Linked DNA regions of Homo sapiens: regions 2, 3, 4, 5, 6 and 7 are each linked to region 1. Evidence: promoter capture Hi-C in 16 types of primary human blood cells and fetal thymus (Javierre and others, 2016). All regions are on one chromosome and are shown on one strand. Each heading gives the region's core, a stretch centred on a gene start or on the middle of the fragment in contact. The rest is flanking DNA. Distances are from core to core; before and after follow the strand shown. Region 1 holds the start of RNASE1 (ribonuclease A family member 1, pancreatic). Region 2 has its middle 4.3 kb from the start of TRL-TAG2-1. Region 3 holds the start of RNASE13 (ribonuclease A family member 13 (inactive)). Region 4 overlaps METTL17 (methyltransferase like 17). Region 5 overlaps NDRG2 (NDRG family member 2). Region 6 has its middle 3.9 kb from the start of RNASE8. Region 7 has its middle 16 kb from the start of METTL17.

What was found. The method cuts DNA at HindIII sites, captures the fragments that hold promoters and counts their contacts. A CHiCAGO score of 5 or more calls a contact.
Region 2: a contact is called between a fragment that was not itself captured here and the fragment with the promoter of RNASE1 in region 1, in 1 of 17 cell types (M2 macrophages). The highest score is 6.7, in M2 macrophages.
Region 3: a fragment that was not itself captured here is called in contact with the fragment with the promoter of RNASE1 in region 1 in 2 of 17 cell types (M0 macrophages and M1 macrophages); the score reaches 6.2 in M0 macrophages.
Region 4: a fragment that was not itself captured here is called in contact with the fragment with the promoter of RNASE1 in region 1 in 2 of 17 cell types (monocytes and M2 macrophages); the score reaches 5.9 in monocytes.
Region 5: a contact is called between a fragment that was not itself captured here and the fragment with the promoter of RNASE1 in region 1, in 1 of 17 cell types (M2 macrophages). The highest score is 7.5, in M2 macrophages.
Region 6: a contact is called between a fragment that was not itself captured here and the fragment with the promoter of RNASE1 in region 1, in 1 of 17 cell types (M1 macrophages). The highest score is 5.0, in M1 macrophages.
Region 7: a fragment that was not itself captured here is called in contact with the fragment with the promoter of RNASE1 in region 1 in 7 of 17 cell types (erythroblasts, M2 macrophages, monocytes and 4 more); the score reaches 8.2 in erythroblasts.

The regions. Positions count from the first base shown.
Region 1 is chr14:20,801,592-20,804,291 of GRCh38, reverse strand. It overlaps RNASE1 (ribonuclease A family member 1, pancreatic), which reads left to right and starts at 1,448. Exons shown (of 2, transcript NM_002933.5): 1 at 1,448-1,495; 2 at 2,199-2,700. The coding sequence starts at 2,224. The coding sequence ends at 2,694. All of the region lies in intron 3 of LOC105370397 (a long non-coding RNA gene), which reads right to left. The HindIII fragment of the contact is 7,079 bases long and covers 1-2,700 here.
Region 2 is chr14:20,619,728-20,622,427 of GRCh38, reverse strand. No RefSeq gene overlaps it. Among named protein-coding and RNA genes, the nearest start is that of TRL-TAG2-1, 4.3 kb to the left of the region's middle. The HindIII fragment of the contact is 3,271 bases long and covers 1-2,700 here.
Region 3 is chr14:21,034,702-21,037,514 of GRCh38, reverse strand. It overlaps RNASE13 (ribonuclease A family member 13 (inactive)), which reads left to right and starts at 2,708. Exons shown (of 2, transcript NM_001012264.4): 1 at 2,708-2,813. It also overlaps a transcript of NDRG2 not described here and a transcript of TPPP2 not described here. The HindIII fragment of the contact is 560 bases long and covers 971-1,530 here.
Region 4 is chr14:20,993,925-20,996,766 of GRCh38, reverse strand. METTL17 (methyltransferase like 17) reads right to left here. Exons shown (of 14, transcript NM_022734.3): 7 at 2,704-2,798; 8 at 2,154-2,224; 9 at 1,866-1,973; 10 at 1,534-1,602; 11 at 816-866; 12 at 475-558; 13 at 56-240. LOC101929718 (a long non-coding RNA gene) reads left to right here. Exons shown (of 4, transcript NR_110139.1): 4 at 437-930. Among named protein-coding and RNA genes, the nearest start is that of SLC39A2, 3.9 kb to the left of the region's middle. RefSeq lists an enhancer at 1-638. The HindIII fragment of the contact is 5,148 bases long and covers 1-2,842 here.
Region 5 is chr14:21,017,860-21,020,688 of GRCh38, reverse strand. It overlaps NDRG2 (NDRG family member 2), which reads left to right. Exons shown (of 16, transcript NM_001320329.2): 8 at 107-193; 9 at 713-769; 10 at 947-1,050; 11 at 1,529-1,573; 12 at 1,875-1,926; 13 at 2,185-2,232; 14 at 2,450-2,485; 15 at 2,651-2,702. Among named protein-coding and RNA genes, the nearest start is that of MIR6717, 4.1 kb to the left of the region's middle. RefSeq lists an enhancer at 1-1,174. The HindIII fragment of the contact is 4,424 bases long and covers 1-2,829 here.
Region 6 is chr14:21,052,513-21,055,236 of GRCh38, reverse strand. It overlaps a transcript of NDRG2 not described here. Among named protein-coding and RNA genes, the nearest start is that of RNASE8, 3.9 kb to the left of the region's middle. The HindIII fragment of the contact is 3,933 bases long and covers 1-2,724 here.
Region 7 is chr14:20,972,917-20,975,676 of GRCh38, reverse strand. No RefSeq gene overlaps it. Among named protein-coding and RNA genes, the nearest start is that of METTL17, 16 kb to the left of the region's middle. The HindIII fragment of the contact is 5,961 bases long and covers 1-2,760 here.

The DNA of each region.
Region 1 (2,700 bases), core at 199-2,698:
GTCTGTATCCCACAGTCTAATGAATGAATGAACACATTCTAACTTGACTATTCAAGAGAATAAAAGTATTATTAAAGACTCAGAAAAATAAAATACAGGTGGGGGCTGGGGGAGTAAGGAAACTGTAGGGGCCAAGGAAAAATTCCCCTTTCACCCTCCAAAGGTTTGCTGAAAATCAACTGACAAAAGACAGATTGATAGGAAAAAACGCATACAAATTGATTTGATCGTAGTTTTACACGACACGGGAGCCTTCAGAAGACCCAAAGATAACAGGGGAAAGTGGGCATTCTTACACTTGGATATCAACAAAGTATGAACAGCTGTGTAGAAATATGACTGGACAACAGGGCGATCTAATGAAAATAGACTGAGTGGGGAAACCCAGCAAGGCCTCCCTGTCTAGATTCTTCTTGGCCTCTCTGAGCATTCGTCCTTTTTTTCTGGGTATGGGGGGCAGGACCCTCTCTGGAATGAGGATCTTACGACCTACAATCACACAAGGTAGGTCAGATAATTTCACTATGGCCACTTTTTACACAGAAAGGCTGAAACAATCTGAATACACAGCACGAAGGGATATTTTGATAATTCTTAGAGGTATCCAAATTGTTACTCAGCAAAAAAACAGGTCTCTTTCTAGGAGGGCATTCTGCTGCTAATAAATATGATATTCTTTGTATTTTTTCCCCAAAAAGAATTTGAGATTTGGGATTTAAGTTTATCTTTAGTTCCTCTACTCAATTCCGACCTACAGGGTCAGTGGTTACTGTAGATAAGAACAGCCCCATCCTCTCGATGCCCCCAGAGCAGGGGTGGAGGGTGGGTGGGAAGTGGCCAGAACTGGGTGAGCGCACCCTAGAGGCCTCCTCCTCCTCCCTATTCAGTTACTCCCCCTTTCTTCTCCAGATCTGGGAAGCCTTCCAGCTGGGGGCAGCAGGACAGCCTCCATTCCCCCCGACCCCGCCTCCCATCCCCGGGAGAGGTAGCGTTGGGAGAATGCCCTCCTAGAAAGAGACTTGGGTTTTGCTCCCTAGGAGCCCTGGAATAGCTTTGGCCAGAATTCCCTATCTCCCATTAGAACCTCTCCTTTGCGTCCTTTGTTAACCTCCAAGTCTACTTGGTGAAAACGCCCACGAAGAAGTAACAAGGACTTTGTTCCTAGTGTGCCAGGTTTGGGCACCAGTGCTGTAGTGGCTTTCTCTGCTGCTCCTTGTGCATCAGCAGACAGATGTGGTTCACATAGGAAGAAAGACTAACGTAGGCAAAGATTTGCTCTTTCTTCAGCAGCCCTAGAAAGACGGCGGCCTGGGTGATTCACCACTCCTTCCTCACGTCCTTGATTTTATTTGAACTGAGCTCCAGATGCTCCTCCCACCCTTTTCCTCTTGGAAGCCAAACCCCTTTGTAATCTGTATAAGGTCCACACCCCGGGAGCTGAGTGATTGCAGAAACTGGCCTTCCATCTCTCTCAGACACCAAGCTGCAGATCCAGGTAAGCAGCCCAAGAGGTGTTCTCAGGTGCCGCTTCTGCTTCAGGGTTGCAGAAGAGGGAGCTAGGGCCAGTCCACAGCACTGAGAAAGATTGGGTGATGCTAGCGCTGAAAAAATGTGGCCCAGGCAAACATCAGCTGGGGGCAGAGGGGTCAGGGTGGAACGTGCAGGCTGCAGAGCATCCATGGGACTGGAGAAGAAGGAGCCTCCAAATTGGGGGAGGCCAGCGTTTCTCTCTGGAATACAATGGAATCTTTTATGATGCCAGTGTCAGGCACTGGCCTGAGTTCCCTTATGCTCCAAGACAACAAGGCTCTGTCACCCATGGCCCTGGATGTCGGGGATACAATTTGGTTCATGATTTATTCAAACTGATGTTTCGATGAGCCATTTGAGCACTGGGTACAAATGTATTTTGGATCAAAGAAACTCCAGTATTCAAAGATAGGAACTGACAGGATTTTAGGTCACTTTGTAGGTCACCACCTAGAGGGGAGGAAGACCTCGCTTTGGAGAGTGGGAATAAAACGCTCGTGGAAAAGGGTACACGTGAGTGTCTCATTACACGAAAAACCTCAGGAAGTAGGATGGACGTCTTTCTGGCTGACCTGAAACAGAAAGTGTAAACCAGGCAAGCCATAGGTGGGAGCTGGAGTTCTTTTTCTAAGAGGGCTCTTTTCCTTCTCTCTCCTTTTCTCAATTAGGCTTTTCTGGGAAAGTGAGGCCACCATGGCTCTGGAGAAGTCTCTTGTCCGGCTCCTTCTGCTTGTCCTGATACTGCTGGTGCTGGGCTGGGTCCAGCCTTCCCTGGGCAAGGAATCCCGGGCCAAGAAATTCCAGCGGCAGCATATGGACTCAGACAGTTCCCCCAGCAGCAGCTCCACCTACTGTAACCAAATGATGAGGCGCCGGAATATGACACAGGGGCGGTGCAAACCAGTGAACACCTTTGTGCACGAGCCCCTGGTAGATGTCCAGAATGTCTGTTTCCAGGAAAAGGTCACCTGCAAGAACGGGCAGGGCAACTGCTACAAGAGCAACTCCAGCATGCACATCACAGACTGCCGCCTGACAAACGGCTCCAGGTACCCCAACTGTGCATACCGGACCAGCCCGAAGGAGAGACACATCATTGTGGCCTGTGAAGGGAGCCCATATGTGCCAGTCCACTTTGATGCTTCTGTGGAGGACTCTACCTAAGGTCAG
Region 2 (2,700 bases), core at 149-2,648, 180 kb after region 1:
GATAACAAATATTTAAAATATCTGTTGAGCTATTATACCTAGAATTGAGCCAATAAGAGACTTAGGGCACATGAATGGGTCTCATATTGAAACTTTTGATGAGCTCTCCAGATGAGATTTTACAGTCACATTTATGTCTCTGTGTTTCAGTGCTAGTCTGATAAACATACCTGCTATGGTTTGAATATGGTTAATTTGTCCCCACTAGAACTCATGTCGAAATTTGATTTCCAATGTGTCAGTGTTGGGAGATGGGGCCTAGTGGGAGGTGTTTGGATCACAGTAGTAAATTCCTTATGAATGTCTTGGTGCCCTTCTCTCTGTAGTGTGTGAGTTCTGGCTCTGGTGAGATTGGATTACTTCCTTTGGGAATGGATTAGTTCCCTGGGAGAGTGGGTTGTTATACAGCCAAGAGGCCCTCACTTTTTTTTTTCTTTTTTTCTCTTTGTATGTGTCTGCTTCCCCTTTGACCTTCTCTGCCTTGTTTTGACCTAGTGTAGTGGCCCTCCCCAGAAGCCTGGCTGATGCTGGTAACATGCTTCTCCTACTTCCCAGGCTGCAGAACTGTGAGCTAAATAAACCTCTTTCTTTCTAAATTACTCAGCCTCATGTATTCTATTACAGCAACACAAAACGAACGAAGACAATACTCATTTGGCCAGGTGTGGTGGCTCACGCCTGTAATCTCGGCATTTTGGGAGACTGAAGCAGGCACATTGCTTGAGGTCAGGAATTCGAGACCAGCCTGGACAACATGTCAAAACCCCGTCTCTACTAAAAATACAAAAATTAGCCGGGCATGGTGGCATGTGCCTGTAATCCCAGCTACTCAGGAGGCTGAGGCAGGAGAATCGCTTGAACCCAGGAGATGGAGGTTGCAGTGAGCCGAGATCGCACCACTGCACTCCAGCCTGGGCAACAGAGATTCCATTTAAAAACAAAAACAAAAACAAATAAACAAAAAAAATCATAATACTCATTTAAATAACCCATAGTTTCTCTATGTGTTGACTTTTTTTTTTTAAATATGAAGATTCTCAAGTGATGGAAGTGGCCTGAGCTCATTTTGATCTGTTTTAGTGCCAGATCAGGCAATAAAAGGAAGCAGTCAACAGGAAAGAACCTATCATCACAGCAGAGCCCTCTTTGATCCTGGAATGCTGCAGGTTCAAATTCCTCAAACTGACAGGCGTCAGAGCACTTTCTTATCAAGAAAGTACCACACTCTCCTGTTCCTGGCTGAAGTTCCTTTGCTAACAAGTGGGCATAGCTTCTCCTATTCAATTTCCTATTCAGTGTTGCTGGAGTACCTATTTCCCACCTTGTGCTCACAGGATCCTTCAGTAGGGAGGGAGGAAACTTGGCCTGTTCCTTTCAAGAAGTGGATCACATGTTGGATTGCACAGCTCAAACAGTAAGTGCCCTGAGACCCATAAGCCAGGTGTCTTGGCTTTCCTAGTAGAATGCCAAATTTGCTGCATACTTGATTGCCCAATATCTAAAGCAAATAGATAACCACCCTTTTGGAAAGATGCCTGATACAAATACATGCAATGTGTTCGTCTGGCTGGCACATGTCTATTCCTTCAGTCTTCAGCACAGAATGCTGATATTCTAGGCTCTAGCATTCTGTAATATTGTCGGAGAGTTTAACCTTGAATTTCTTGCTATCCATACCTTGTTAATAGTTCAGATGATGAAAATTTATAGATAAGCAAGAGATTTACTTTAAGGCCTTAATATGCAAAGTGTGATTGGGGACCAGCAGCATCAGCATCTTTTGGTAGCAGATTAGAAATGCAGAATCTCAGGCCTACTGAATCAGAATCTTAACAAACTCCCCAAAAGTTAGAGTATGCATTAAATTTTGAGAAATACTCTATGTACCAACTTCTGTATCAGATGTTCTATGTTCATTTAGAGCATCTGAAAATTCCCACCAGAATCTTTCTGGATCAGTCTGCAGCAGAAGACACGCACTACATTGCAATGTAAAGCTCTGTTCCTAGCTCCAATAGAGAGCCATGCCCCAGTCTGGGCATGGTGGCTCATGCCTGTAATCCCAGCACTTTGGGAGGCCTAGGCGGGCGGATCACGAGGTCAGGAGTTCAAGACCAGCCTAACCAACATGGTGAAACCCCGTCTCTACTAAACATACAAAAATTAGCCGGGCGTGGTGTTGTGCGCCTGTAATCTCAGCTACTTGGGAGGCTGAGGCAGGAGCATTGCTTGAACCTGGGAGGCGGAGGTTGTGGTGAGCTGAGATCGTGCCATTGCACTCCAGCTTGGACAATAAGAGTGAAACTCTGTCTCAAAAAAAAAAAAAAAAAAAAAAGCCATCCCCCTATTGGCCTGAGGACCCCTCTATGTGCTGTAAAATCTTGCTCAAAATTAAATACTATATTTAAATTAAATAATATTTTTGATGACTCCATCAGATAGTCAATGCTTTCAGCATTTATTGAACCCGACTTACTTAGCTCTGATATGGTTTCATATGGTTATCACATTGACCATCACAGTAAAGCAAAGTACTGTGATTGTACTTAGAAGTTTTCTATGCAGTGGCTCACGCCTGTAATCCCAGCGCTTTGGGAGGCTGAGGAGGGCGAATCATGAGGTCAGGAGTTCGAGACCAGCCTGACCAACATGGTGAAACCTGTCTCTACTAAAAATACAAAAAAATTTAGCCAGGCGTGG
Region 3 (2,813 bases), core at 1-2,500, 230 kb before region 1:
GACAACCAAAAATGTCTCCAGACATTATCCAATTGTCCCTGGAACTACTGAATTAGACATATGACCTTGAGCAAGCCACTGTCACTCTAGAACTTAGTTTTTCATCCCTAGGGAAATGCTTGTGTATGTAAAACCCGGTGTAATGGGGTAACAATCCCACTAATCTCAGGCTTACGGAGCACATGACACCATGATGAGGTTGTCAGAATGGATGAAGTAATCTTATGCATCAGCACCTCTAGGACAGGATTTTAGGGAACAGATCACCAGGATTGCAGTTGGGAAGCCGAAGGCTCATCATCATTAAATCATTTAAGTCCTGAATGCTTTCCTCTATAATGTGCTGTTCAGTTTCTGTAATTGTGCGGCAGAAGTGAGTGGTGTTGGGTGGGGGGAGCGAAGAGCGGTGATGGGTGGCTGGGGAATGAAGGAAGAGGAAGAACAAAAGGTATAAAAAGTCCCTTTCTATTCTCAGGGAAGCTGCAGCCTTGAGGGACCAGGGAAGAGGTGGCATGATTCAAGGCAGGGACCACAATGTGGTTGGCTTCCTCAAAGCAAAGGCCTGAGTCAGCCAGGCTCAGGCGACACCCTGCATTGGCACCCGCTCAGTGTTGTCTTGTTGAGCAGCCTGAAGAATACAGATGAGCCACCTGCCCATGTGGGCTCTATCCTCACTTGCTTGACGGTGCCCACTTCCTTGGCGAGGTCTTCCCAGCAGAGGCTTTCTAAGTGGGACCTCTGGGTTGAGTCTTTCTATGAGCTAGCACCATGGAATAGATGGGGGCGAGGAACGGTGCAGCAGCAGGGTTCCAGGTAGAGGAGACAGCAGCAGATAGGGCATAGAGGAGGTGGGGGACAAGGTGGGAAGCAGGCAGGGATGCAGATGCAGTTGTACACATGGGCAGGTGCAAGATCATGGGAAGTCTTATGTCCTGTGAGATGTAGTTTGGACTATACCCTACGACAAGCTTGTCCAACCCATGGCCCGCGGGTCACATGTGGCCCAGGATGGCTTTGAATGCAGCCCAACACAAATTCGTAAACTTTCTTAAAACATTATGAATTTTTTTGCATGTTTTAAGCTCATCAGCTATCGTTAGTGATAGTGTATTTTATGTGCGGCCCAAGACAATTCTTCTTCCAATGTGGCCCAGGGAAGCCAAAAGACTGGGCACCCCTACCCTATGAGAAACAAGCTATTGCAGACTTTTAGACGAAAGAAGGGATCACACTTTTTCTCTTGAAGTTGTATAAGAGATATATTTGAGTTGAGTCTTACTGGAGTTGGAGTGTGTGTGCTGTCCAGGCGAGACGAGAGCATCCACTGAGGAAGAAATAAGAATGGAAGAGATGGGCTTGGGAAAAGTTTAAGATTGTCAGGGCTGTGTGACTGATGGACTCAGGCTCATACTGAGGACTCACCATGTGCCGGGCACTGGTCTAAAAACTCTTGATATACATCTTAATGGATCCTCATACTGCCGTGAGGTAAAAAATACTATCCTCATGAACAGATGAAACAAGGAAGCTTTCAGTGGTTTCGTAAACAGATAGATGGTGTGCAGTTTGTAAGCTGCAGAGGCAGGATTCAATTCCTGGTCTGTTTCACTCAAAAGCCTTGATCTTAACCACCATGCAGGACCGCCTCCCCGTAGCTGGGATTGGGGAGGTGGAGGGGTCTAGGATCACTTTCAGGTTTCTTGCATAGGTAACCAGGGAAACTGAGTTGACAAAACAGGAAGAGAAACAAGTTATGGGGAGGATGGATTCCATTTTGGACTGTGGTTTGTGCTGTCAGAAAGTGCCAGTTTAGGGGGCTCTACATGAGGAACACCAATCTTTCTCTCTGCGGCCTTACTCCCTCCTCCTGAGCTATACTGAGGGTGTTGGAGCACTCAGCTTTCTGTGTTCTGACTCCCCTTTTCTGCTGCCCAGCAAAGGTAAAAAGGCTCTCCTAAGAGGAGGCCCCAAATCTGGAAGACACCTTGCAGACTAACAAGGCTGAGTGACCTGTGGAAGTCAAGGGCAAGAGCTAGCAGTTTCCAGGGAGCTGGCTCTTTGATTCTGATGAAAGGGAAGATGTTGATGAAAAAGATAGGAGCGTGGCCCTTTCCCCAGCATGGCAAACCACTCAGAGATCAACCAACAGTACGAAACGGATCATGCCAGGCTCTGGCATCCACAGCTTTTCATGTTCAGGTTATGCTTTCAAATCCAAACTGCCAAGTTTGAGGCTTCAGAGTCAGCATGCAGAGATTTCCAGTAGTGCTCAAACTCTGACAGGGCCTGAGGTCACAGGTGAAGGCTGTGGGTGTGACAGGAGTAAGGCTGATAGGGACCGTGGGGAGTCCACATGGAGGTCTTTGATTCTCAGCCCAGCACTTTGGTGGGAGGCCCCTGAGTACATGCCCTCCTGGGCTCCCGTGAGTGGGATGACAAAGTGGCGAATGCTCTGTTCTCTGAGGGTCAGGAATAAGAAGCACTTTGTTCCTCAGAAACATAACAGTGCTTTCCTACTCACCTTGCCACGAGAGCACAGGCTATGGAACAGAGAAAACATCAAAGAAAGCCCAGGCACTTAGGAACTTTTGGCAAGGAGATTGGAAGTAAGTGTTCCAATGACACTGTAGAGGAGGAGACCAGATAGTAATGCCTCTTTCCTCCCACCCATCCAACCCTCTTAGCACAGGGGCTCATCAAACTCGGGGACATTCCCTCCTCCCAGACTGATTTTTACCTAGAAACCTTTCTAGCCTCTCCTCATCTCTTGACTGTCTTGGCCTTGGCAAGAAGAATACACGTCCCTACCCAGC
Region 4 (2,842 bases), core at 15-2,514, 190 kb before region 1:
GCGTGGGCTGCAGCTTCCTGCCACATCCCACTGATTTTGGTCACACCCCCCATACCTGCCGTGCCGGCGGGCTGTGAGCACAGCATGCTGCATGTGCCCATCTGGACAGCACAAGTGACAATGCACATGGCGAGGCCGTTTAAGGACAGGCTGAGTGATACGGGGCCAGCGATGAGCCTCCTCTGGAGACCCCCGAGCAAGGATCACCATAGAGAACTTTTCTTCCTTTGGTTTCTTGTTCTAAGATAAGGAACATAGAGACTGTTTAGAAGAAAAAGATATGGGAAAAAAGTTTGTACAGTCCCTTCTTCCCCATTCCTGCAGTCCTTTTTTACAATGTATAAATCATATACATGTAGGCCCTAAAGTCTCCAGGCTATTCTACAAATTATCCAACTCCTCCTAACTCTGATTCTTTTTCTTCCTGTTTTTCCAGGATGTTTGCTTCCTGCTGCAATATCCCCAGGTACCTACCCAGCTGAAGGGGATGGGATGGTACGCCTGTGAGAAGCTACAGGCCAGGTTGGTCAACTGGGGACAAGGGAGTTCATGGGGACACTGTGAACACATAAAAAAATGAGGTAAGACAAAAGAGCCATCAATCACAAAACTTAAAAACTGAGAATAATAGAGTCAAAAGGGGCCAGGGAGAAGGGAGGACAGGAGCAGTGGGTAGGAAGAGCCAGGGGAATCATTAGGTAGGAACTGGATAGGAACACAAAGTAGTGGAGAGTGGCTTAGCTTTACCATCTTACATTTCCCGGCCACGCCTAAGTTCAGATCCGTGTGGTGGGACAGGCAGAAGTAATACTCACCGGGGCAAAGACAAAACCAGGTCGAGGGTCCAAAGGTGACTTCTCTTTTCCCTGAAATCAAAGGAAATAAAAGAAATAAAGCTGGGCCAAGGGTCTATTTTCATAATTCAATCTCTGCACTCAGTAAACTGAGGACTCCTTTAACACTCAATTCTAATAACGATTGACTATGTCCTTTGAATTAAGCTGGCTGCATCTTTAATACTCCAAACAAAGAACTTTCTCTTTGCTGCAGGAGAAAGGCAAGAACTTGGCACATAGTACGGTGCTCTCCCTTGTCAGCAACCTCCACTCTCAAAAAAATCCCACTCCAGGACAATTAAATTTATGATTATACACTGGCTCATACTCTCCCCCAGTGACAAGGTTCTTAGCTCAGCAATGCCCTAGATTAGGAGTCCGCAAAGTTTCTTTTAAAGGGCCAGAGAGTAGGCAAAATCTATCTCTGTCCCAACTACTCAACTCTGCTGTTTGTAGTGTGAAAGCAGTCACAGACAACAGAGGCACAAATAAGCATGGCTTATATAAAAACAGGTGGCAGGTCGGATTTGATCCACAGGCTCTCATTTGCCAACCACTGCTCTGTATCATAATGACTTCATACGCCCAGTTTCCTGAGAGCCACCCTTGTCAATACATGACAGTCTCTTTCGTTTTCAAGAGAGTAACAGTAATTGGTGCCATATGGGTGGGGGAGTGAGGGAAGAAGAAGCCTTACCTTAAGGACCAGATCCCTGGCATCCATGAGAAGGCTGTGCCCAGCTTTTGTTCCATTCTCCACCAGTACCTGTTCACAAAAGGGGAAAATATGCAGAAGACTTGAATTACACGAAAGTATAAATGTCAGTAGCTGTGTAAGAGCAATCATAGAGGGAGAAGGAGTCCTAAAAAGAAATAGGCATTACATAATCAGGATGGAGACCCTCAAAGAGGGATAAAGAAACCCATGAAGGAGAAAAATGGTGAAGAATAAAGACAATGAGAGGAGCAAAGGCATGAAATCCATGAAGCTGCTTCAAGACTTAAGGAGAACAAGGAATTTTAACTCACCAGGAAATGACCTGTCTTACGCCATAAGGTTTGAACTACCTCAGTGCGGTCAGCCTTGCTGGGCAGTTCACTTAAGGAAAAAGCTGACACTACTACATCAAACTGCACCTGAGGACCAAGACAAGGAACATGACAGACTCAACATCTCTACATCCCAAGAATACAACAAAGTCCTAGCCGCTAAATTTCTTTTATCTTCTAACACTCAGTGCTGGGCTGCAAAGCTCAAGCCATAGTTTTCCATCTGCCACATTCCACATTTAGAATATTCTAAACACTGCCACTTGCCTTGGGTGATACAGGTAGAAACTGTCTGAAAAAGACACCTGGAATATAAGGCTCCCCAGATTCTGAACCACCTGTGGAGAAAAGAAGAGGCAACTGTGAGTGTGTAGGAAGTTAGGTATAAACTGAAGAGATATCCAGATAAGAAACATGGCCCCAAGAATAGGTAAAGTGTATATCAAAAAGGGCAGGGATGAGCCAGGTATGGCGGTGCGTGCCTGTAATCCCAGCTACCCTAGAGGCTGAAGTGGGAGGATGGCTTGAGGCCAGGAGTTTGAGACCAGCCTGGGTAACATATGGAGACCCTACCTCTAATTAAAAAAAAAAAAAAAAGGGCAGGGAGAATATTAGGCCTCCTGTCCTTTGATTCTTACCCAACCCATCCTCAGTCCAGCAGAAACCTCTAATACCACCCTTTGCTTGACTATAACTTTAAAAGTAAACCAGATTCATCTTAATTTTTACCCTCTTCTCTACTTCCCAGTAAAACACTTTTACTAGTACCCCTTTGCTTTCTTAACTCCCTCAACTTTGGAAGTGCTCTTGCACTCACCTTTCAGTAGTTTTTCTGCCAAAACCAACATGGCAGCTGATCTGTCCACACACATATATTCACGTAGGCTCTGGCCCCAAATACTGTGAGCAGCCCTAAGATGGCAAAATTATTATAAATCACCAATTCCCATGACCAA
Region 5 (2,829 bases), core at 320-2,819, 220 kb before region 1:
AGGTGGGGAGTCAGGCCCTGTGGGAGTCCAGGAGTGGGTCGAGCTTAGCGGGGAGGGGATAAGGCCATGCCCTGTTTCTCATTTCCTTCCTTCTGCTGTCCCTCAGCTTAACCACCCGGACACTGTTGAAGGTCTTGTCCTCATCAACATTGATCCCAATGCCAAGGGTTGGATGGATTGGGCAGCCCACAAGGTTTGGAGGGGCCTGTGTGCTGAGACCTACGGTTGGGGATCCCCTCGTATGGATCCAGTTAGGCTCTGGTAGATAGCCTAACTGGATGGACTCTGAACTTCAAGGAGGGAGTAAAGGGGCAGGAAAGTGAAGCTGTCACTTTGCCTGAGTCTCTTATAATATCCTGAACTTTCTTTTTCTTTTTCTTTTTTTTTTTTTTTTTGAGATGGTGTCTCACTCTGTTGCCAAGGCTGGAGTGCAGTGGCTTGATCTTGGCTCACTGCAACCTCTGCTTCCTGGGTTCAAGTGATTCTCCTGCCTCAGCCTCCCAAGTAGCTGGGATTACAGGCACCCGCCACCACGCCTGGCTAATATTTGTATTATTAGTAGAGATGGGGTTTCACCATCTTGGCCAGGGTGGTCTTGAACTCCTGACCTCGTGATCCACCCGCCTCGGCCTCCCAAAGTGCTGGGATTACAGACGTGAGCCACTGTGCCTGGCCAATACCCTGAACTTTCTCACCTGCCTTCTCCTCATAGCTAACAGGCCTCACCTCTTCCATTCCGGAGATGATCCTTGGACATCTTTTCAGCCAGGTAAGTGGGTGTAGGAGATGTAGAAGAGTCGACGGGAGCAGCAGGGAACTTGAATGCTTGGGCTAACTTCCTTAGCTGGGACAGGATTTGGGGAAGGAAGAAGGCTTACCTCTTTTCCTCCAGTAATTGTTGTTTTCTCTTTCCATCCCTAATTTTTCTCCTTGTTCTCTCCTTCAGGAAGAGCTCTCTGGAAATTCTGAGTTGATACAAAAGTACAGAAATATCATTACACATGCACCCAACCTGGATAACATTGAATTGTACTGGAACAGCTACAACAAGTGGGTGGGCTGTGTGTGTATGCATGTGAGAGAAATGCAGAAGCAGTAATTGGGCGTCATGGGGGAGGCACAGAGGAGGAGAGGGAAGTCTGGGTAGTGTGCAATGTGCAAGGAATGCAGCATTTAGTGTGCAATGGGGGCAGCTTCAGGACAGAGTCAGTGGGAAGGATTGCAAGGGGCTGTCCCCCTTCTCTTGTTTACCTCCTTTGGATTATTGGACTCCCAGAAGTAAGATGATCTTGTGTCCTGTGTCCTTCCTCCCCTTTTGTTGCCCTCTGACCAGGGATCTAGGGCACAAGTGACTATAGGGGCTGTGCTTGGGGCCTGCCTGCCCCTTTCTCCTTTGGTTTCCACCTTTAATAACCAAGATTTGACCGTAATTTTTAGACAAAGATAGTTCCATCATGGGAGAGATAGCTTATATCTGGTTAGATAGCATTGCCCACCTAAAATTCCTACTCTTTTAACCCCTTTCTAGCCGCCGAGACCTGAACTTTGAGCGTGGAGGTGATATCACCCTCAGGTAAGACTTTAAGAGATAATGCATTGCCTGTCTCCCTGGATCTTCCCTAGGAGCTTGTGTCCCTTAGAAGAAGGAGAATCTTTTGCCAGGGAACTTCCTTGTCATGTCCCACCCCATCCTATTTGGTAAATCACTTCCCTCTAGGTCTTCCCCCTTTGAATCCTCTTGGTGGCATCAGCAGGGAGACACAGAAGTGTCTTTCCTCTTTGGAGCCAGATATTTTTCCAGCTGCACTCCTAGGCAGAGGCCAGTGAGGGAGTGCCAGGGGCTCACTGCCTTCTCCCCAACACTGTGTCTTTAGGTGTCCTGTGATGCTGGTGGTAGGAGACCAAGCACCTCATGAAGATGCAGTGGTTAGTAGGGAATTTTGGGGTGAGTGAGGGAGGAGGGTTGGGGTCCTAAAGTGGTGGTCAGAAGAGTATCTTGCCAAGGGGATGTCCTGTTTGGCACAGGGAGATCAACTTTGGGGCACTAAGAATTTGATTCCTGGTAAGGAGGAACTGGGTAGGGAGCTGATAGAAAAGGGACTGGGGTCTGGGTTCCTGGGTCCCTTACGGGGGAGGCGCCACAGTGGGCGTGACCTCATTCATTCAGCCTCCTGCTTACTCCAGGTGGAATGTAACTCAAAACTGGACCCCACCCAGACCTCGTTCCTCAAGGTCAGTAACCTGTTCCTGGGCCCCCGTCCACAGTCATATATCCTCTCTACATGCAGCTGCTAAGCCTCCAGGGCCCGGCATGGGAGCAAATGGGGTGAACGAAGAACAAAACAAAGGGGCTAGAGTGAAGAAGCTAGGGAAGAGAGACCCTTTCCACCTCTCTGCATGGCTCATTTATGTGTGTTTCACTTTTTCTGGGTGGTGCTCTCCTGAACAGATGGCTGACTCCGGAGGTCAGCCCCAGCTGACTCAGGTGAGTGCCGCTGCCGTCCATGGGATGGGGAAGGGACATAGGATACCGGTGGCACTGGGCTCTGCCCTTTGCCACACACCCGGCCCCACAGTGCCGCAGCCTCAGGCTCCAGCTCTTCCTCTAACCTCATCTCACCGTCTCCCTCGCCTCTTCTTACTTCCGCAGCCAGGCAAGCTGACCGAGGCCTTCAAGTACTTCCTGCAAGGCATGGGCTACAGTGAGTATCGGGACAAGAGCTTGCTGCACTAGAGGAGAGATAGGCACTGACGGGGTGGAACCGTTTTAGGTGAATGCCTGGACTCACCGCTATCTGCCCAATCGAGCTCGTTGATCCCCTGGCTTAG
Region 6 (2,724 bases), core at 214-2,713, 250 kb before region 1:
TAGGAATTCCTAAGTACCTGGAAACCTTGAATGCAGAAGGAACAGTGCCAGTCACAACTTACTTGCAGTCAAATAATTTCAAAAGTAAAACTTTAAAAATCTTTTCAGATACATTTCTGCAGAAACAATATTGAATGAGGAATATATATCTTACATATTCAAAGTAGTGTGGCGAGTGGTAAAATGCTTAGGAGTATGGTAGGATAGAGTATACTATTTACTACCTACTAAAGGCAGCCAGGATAACATACACCGCATTGCTTATGGTTCAGGTCAGCACAGGGCTGTACAGCAGCAGCAGGAGGAAAGAGATGCTACCAAGCATCATTTAATTAGCATCTAAAATGTGCTCGGTACAGTTCTAGGTTCTTGGTGGAAAGTAAAGAACCTCATTTTAAAAGGTGCTTCACGAGCCAAAGCATTGTGCTTTGTGTACAACTTTATATATAAACTGTATTGTGTGTTCCACAATATTATCCCAATTTTACAGAAAAGGAAACTAAGGTTCTGGCAGGTTAAGATCCACAGATTTAGTAAGTGGCAGGGCCGGGATTTGAAATTCGGTTCTGTTTGGCTCCAAAGTTCATGTTATCTTTCCTTGCCACACTGCTTTCCTGTTTATTGATAATTCATTAACAGTTACAGACCCAAGCTGCCAGCCTTTGAAGTGACAGAGTGGGGATGGCAGCAGGAGCCCAGGGCTGGCCTAAACATTTCCTCCTCTTGTGGGCTAAGAGTCACCTTGTGTGCACTGGTATGGAGATGAGCCAGTCTTGGCTCTGATTGGTCAATGCCTGTTCCCACCAGATCACAAGAGAAGAAGACTGAATGCCATCTCTAATGTCTACTATGTTCTTGACACTGAACTCAGCAGTGTGTGTGTGTGTGTGTGTGTGTGTGTATTATCTCTTTTGTGATCAATCTATCTAAAAACATCTCCTTACTTATCTTGCAGCATCCCCATGAGATAGAAATATTTATGCTTATTTTGTAGGTAAGGAAACAATGTCTGTGTGTGTGGGAGTTGAGTAACTTGCCCACAGCCATACAGGAGTGAGTGACAGAGCCACTTCGATCTGATCCTCAAATTTACACTCTGTACACTGTGTCAGGCCGTGCTGCAGCTTTGTTTCATTTCAGAGCCAATTTTTACTGATCTTGTTTTTATATGGGGTTTCTGGTCACCCCTGAGAGTACAACTCAGACTACAATCAAAGTTAAAATAGTCTAGTGGTAAGAATACTGAACCAGACATGAATAGCCCTGAATTCTGGTCCCACCTCTTTCACTAATTAGCTGCATGACCTTGGGCAAGGCTCTTCACTAGCTTACATGGACCCAGTTTCATAGAATATCAAAGCAGGAAGGCACTTCCGAGTTCATTGAATCTTAGCTCTTGCTCTGATCAGAAGTGTATTTTTTTTTTCTTTTTTAAGGCAGGGTCTTGCTCTGTCACCCAGGCTGGAGTGCAGTGGCACGATCATGGCTCCCTGTAGTTTCTACATCCTGGGATCAGGTGGTCCTCCTACGTCAGCCTCCTGAGTAGCTGGGACTACAGGCCTGCACCACCACGTGTGGCTAATTTTTCTTTTTCTTTTCTTTTTTTTTCTGAGACGGAGTCTTGCTCTGCCGCCCAGGCTAGACTGCAGTGGCGAGATCTCGGCTCACTGCAAACTCTGCCTCCTGGGTTCAAGCGATTCTCCTGCCTCAGCCTCTTGAGTAGCTGGGATTACAGACACCCACTGCCGCGCCTGGCTAATTTTTGTATTTTTTAGTAGAGCTGGGGTTTCACCATCTTGGCCAGGCTGGTCTCGAACTCCTGACCTCATGAGCCACCTGCCTCGGCCTCCCCAAGTGCTGGGATGACAGGTGTCAGCCACTGCGCCCGGCCAAAGTGCGGCTAATTTTTCTATTTTTTGTAGAGATGGGTTTTGCCACGTTGCCAGCACTGGTCTCAAACTCCTGGACTCAAGTGATCCACTCGCCTCAGCCTCCCAAAGTACTGATATTACAGGTGTGAGCCAATGCACCTGGCAATAACGTTACCAACAGATGGTTTTTGGGCTTGAATACCTTCAGTGACATGAATCTTCACTACCTACCAGTTATATCAGGCACCCAGTTCTGTTGTCTGAGAATTCAACTTTTCTCAAAACCTGATTATCCCCTTGTAAGGCCCCTGTTTCTGTTTTTGGCGCTTCCAGTTGAAAATACTGGTCTCCTTTGACTGTTTCTAATCTTTCATCCCCATATCGATTAGTAGGCTAACAGACTGAATACTTAGCATGATCAAAGTATGGAGGGGCACTTGAGTCACTTAGTCTTATTGGTTCTCTTGTACGTATTTCTCTCCCTTTCCACTGCCTGTCTGGATGACTCTCACCACCTTCTAACTGCCTCCTTGCCTACCCTTTCTCCTGAGTTTAATTGAGCATGTATAATAATGTTGGATGGATCTTGTTAAAATATTCCTTTTCCTGCATCATTTCTCTAAAGATCATCTGTTTATCTCCAGTGGTTCTCTTGCTTGCAAGGTAACATCCAGCCTTCCCAGCCTGGAATCAAAGCCTTCTCCTACTCACCTTGCGTCCAGTCTACCCATTCCGTATGAGTGGCCTCCCTATCTTCCCTCCGAACACAAACTATTCTAACCAAATTCTATCCTAATAACCTGATTTTCCTTTTGTCTCCAGCACATGTTTTGCTCTCTTCAGCTTTGCTTCT
Region 7 (2,760 bases), core at 67-2,566, 170 kb before region 1:
TTATTCAAGGAATCAGAGCAAAAAGAAAAAACAAGAATTACTTTTTTTGTTAACTCCATGAAAAATATGAGGAACTGTCCTAGTAAACAATTTTGTCATTTTCACAATGATGAGTATATAGAGCCTGCCTGTTCAGCCTCTCTTTTGAACAGAATTGGATAAATATGACCAAATCTTTGGCCTTGGGATTCATTTTTTTATACTGTCCTTGGGTCTTTTACTGTGAAAGCATTTTCCAGGTGGAATTTTTTAAGTTAAAGTTCAAGATAAAGCTGTATGTGAAAAAATGAAGCATGTACAGCTGATGGTAAGTGAGATAGCCGATGTTAGGGTATGCAGATACACATTTAAAGTGTTCGTTGTTATATATTTATTTTAATGTAAATGAATAATCAGTACATCAAATCTGTGGTTAAATGAAGAATTGTTTGAGCCCGGGAGGTTGAGGCTGCAGTGAGCTATGATCCCACTACTGCACTCCAGCCTGGGTGACAGAGCACGACCTCGTTTCAAAAAAAAAAAAAAAAAAAACATATCAGAGTCTGACTCACAGCTCTGCTATTCACCAACCTTGTGATCTCAGACTCAGCCCTTGTTTTCTCTTTTCTTTTTTTTTTCTTTTCTTTCTTTTTTTTTTGAGATGGAGTCTCGCTCTGTCACCCAGGCTGGAGTGCAATGGGGCGATCTCTGCTCACTGCAACCTCTGCCTCCTGGGTTCAAATGATTCTCCTGCCTCAGCCTCCCGAGTAGCTGGGATTACAGGCACCCACCACCACACACCCAGCTAATTTTTGTATTTTTAGTAGAGACGGGGTTTCACCAGGTTGGCCAGGCTGGTCTCAAACTCCTGACCTCAGGTGATCCACCCGCCTCGTTCTCCCAAAGTACTGGGATTACAGGCGTGAGCCACCACGCCTGGCGTTTTCTCTTTTCTACAAGGGAAACATTAAAACCCTGCATGATACGCAAACATAAGCCTGATGGTGGGTGACCTTAGATCGTGGACACAGACGAAAGCCTGTATCAGCTCTAGAAAAGTATGTAGAGTGTTACCTACTGGACCATGTTGTGAGGCTTAATCCCAATTACCTTATGTGAAATAGGTGTGCCAAAGAGGGAGTGGCTTCCTTATTTCCAACACTCCTTGCAAAACCATGAGGGATAAACATTTTGAATGATGCTGAGATATTTTAGGCAGTAAAGCACTCATCAAAGTTTCCTCTTAGGTTTAATGACTTTTAGGTCTCCTGTTTTCCTATTAGATGAGGTAGGTGAAGCTGATAGAGACAGCTAAGGATGGGAATGACTACATTACTGTTTGCTGATTGATATCCCCCAGTGTACTAACCTCAAACCTAAATAATCTCAGAGGTGTAAGATCATCTTACTGTCTTCTGTGCTAACATTTTCTCTTGCTCTATTGAAGAAGGGAAAAGAAATAGGGATTTCTGTGTTGACTGCAATGTAATAGTTAAATGTTTTTCTTGATAGTCTTAAGGTAGCAACAACAGCAATAATAACATACATACATACATGTATATATAGGACAATAATTTTATTTTAGTTAATCAGGTGATTTTTTTCTGGATTTAGGTATAGTATTTTAAGAAAAACAGATCTACATAGTAAAAAATTTCAGAAATGTAGATTGCATTTTCCGTAGACATTCCTCTACACACACACACACACACACACACACACACACACACACACACACACTCCTTATGAGGGCTTCAAAGAACTACAAGAGTCCGAGCTAGAAGGAATTTGTGAGGTCCTTTATTCCAAGCTACATTTCATAGCTGAGGACCAGAATGGTAGTCCTCATAGAAAATTAGTGCTAGAACTGGGAATTAAACATATAATTCCTTACTATTGGGATTCCCTTAGTACTATGTGGCAGTTAAAAAAATGAGGTGTGTCTGTGTGTAAGCTGTGGAGCTCTTCAGGAGAATGTGCAGACTCAGGGTAGAGCGGGGAGGCAATGGTGTTGGGTGCGTCAGAGGAAGAAGGATGTGACAGAGTGAGTTCCTCAGGTGAGTACTTGGAGGAGTGAGGAGAGATGGGGAGAATGTGAAATCCTGAGGATCTGGGGTCTGGGATCAGGGGAAGGGAGCTTCCTTTCATCTGAAGGATGTAGATGCTCTCCTCTCCATCGCTTCACTCCCTCCTCTAGAACAAATAACACAGCTCATATGTGGACCCTCTTTCTAATCATCTCCTGGACAAGATTCTCTTCTTCTAAGGCCCAGCACTTAGAAAACCTTCTCAGGCTGGGCATGTTGGTTCATGCCTATAATCCCAGCACTTTGGGAGGCCGAGGCGGGTGGATCACTTGAGGTCAGCAGTTGGAGATCAGCCTGGCCAACACGGTGAAACCCCGTCTCTACTAAAAGTACAAAAATTAGCCAGGCATGGTGGCACACACCTGTAATCCCAGATACTGGGGAGGCTGAGGCAGGAGAATCACTTGAACCTGAGAGGCAGAGGTTGCAGTGAGCTGAGATTGCGCCATTGCACTCCAACCTGGGCGACAAATCGAGACTCCATCTCGGAAAAAAAAAAATCTTCTCAATGGACTCCTCAGCTCCATCAGTAGGAGTTATGAGGGTTGTGGGGGCACTCCTTGCATTGGAAGTAACACCTCCCACCCCAACAGATTAATATTCCACTCAGCAGTATTAGGCACAGTGGATAATTCCCTCCTTTTTGATGAGGATGACCTGAGAATGGGGCTTCTTGTGACAGGAATAGGGACGA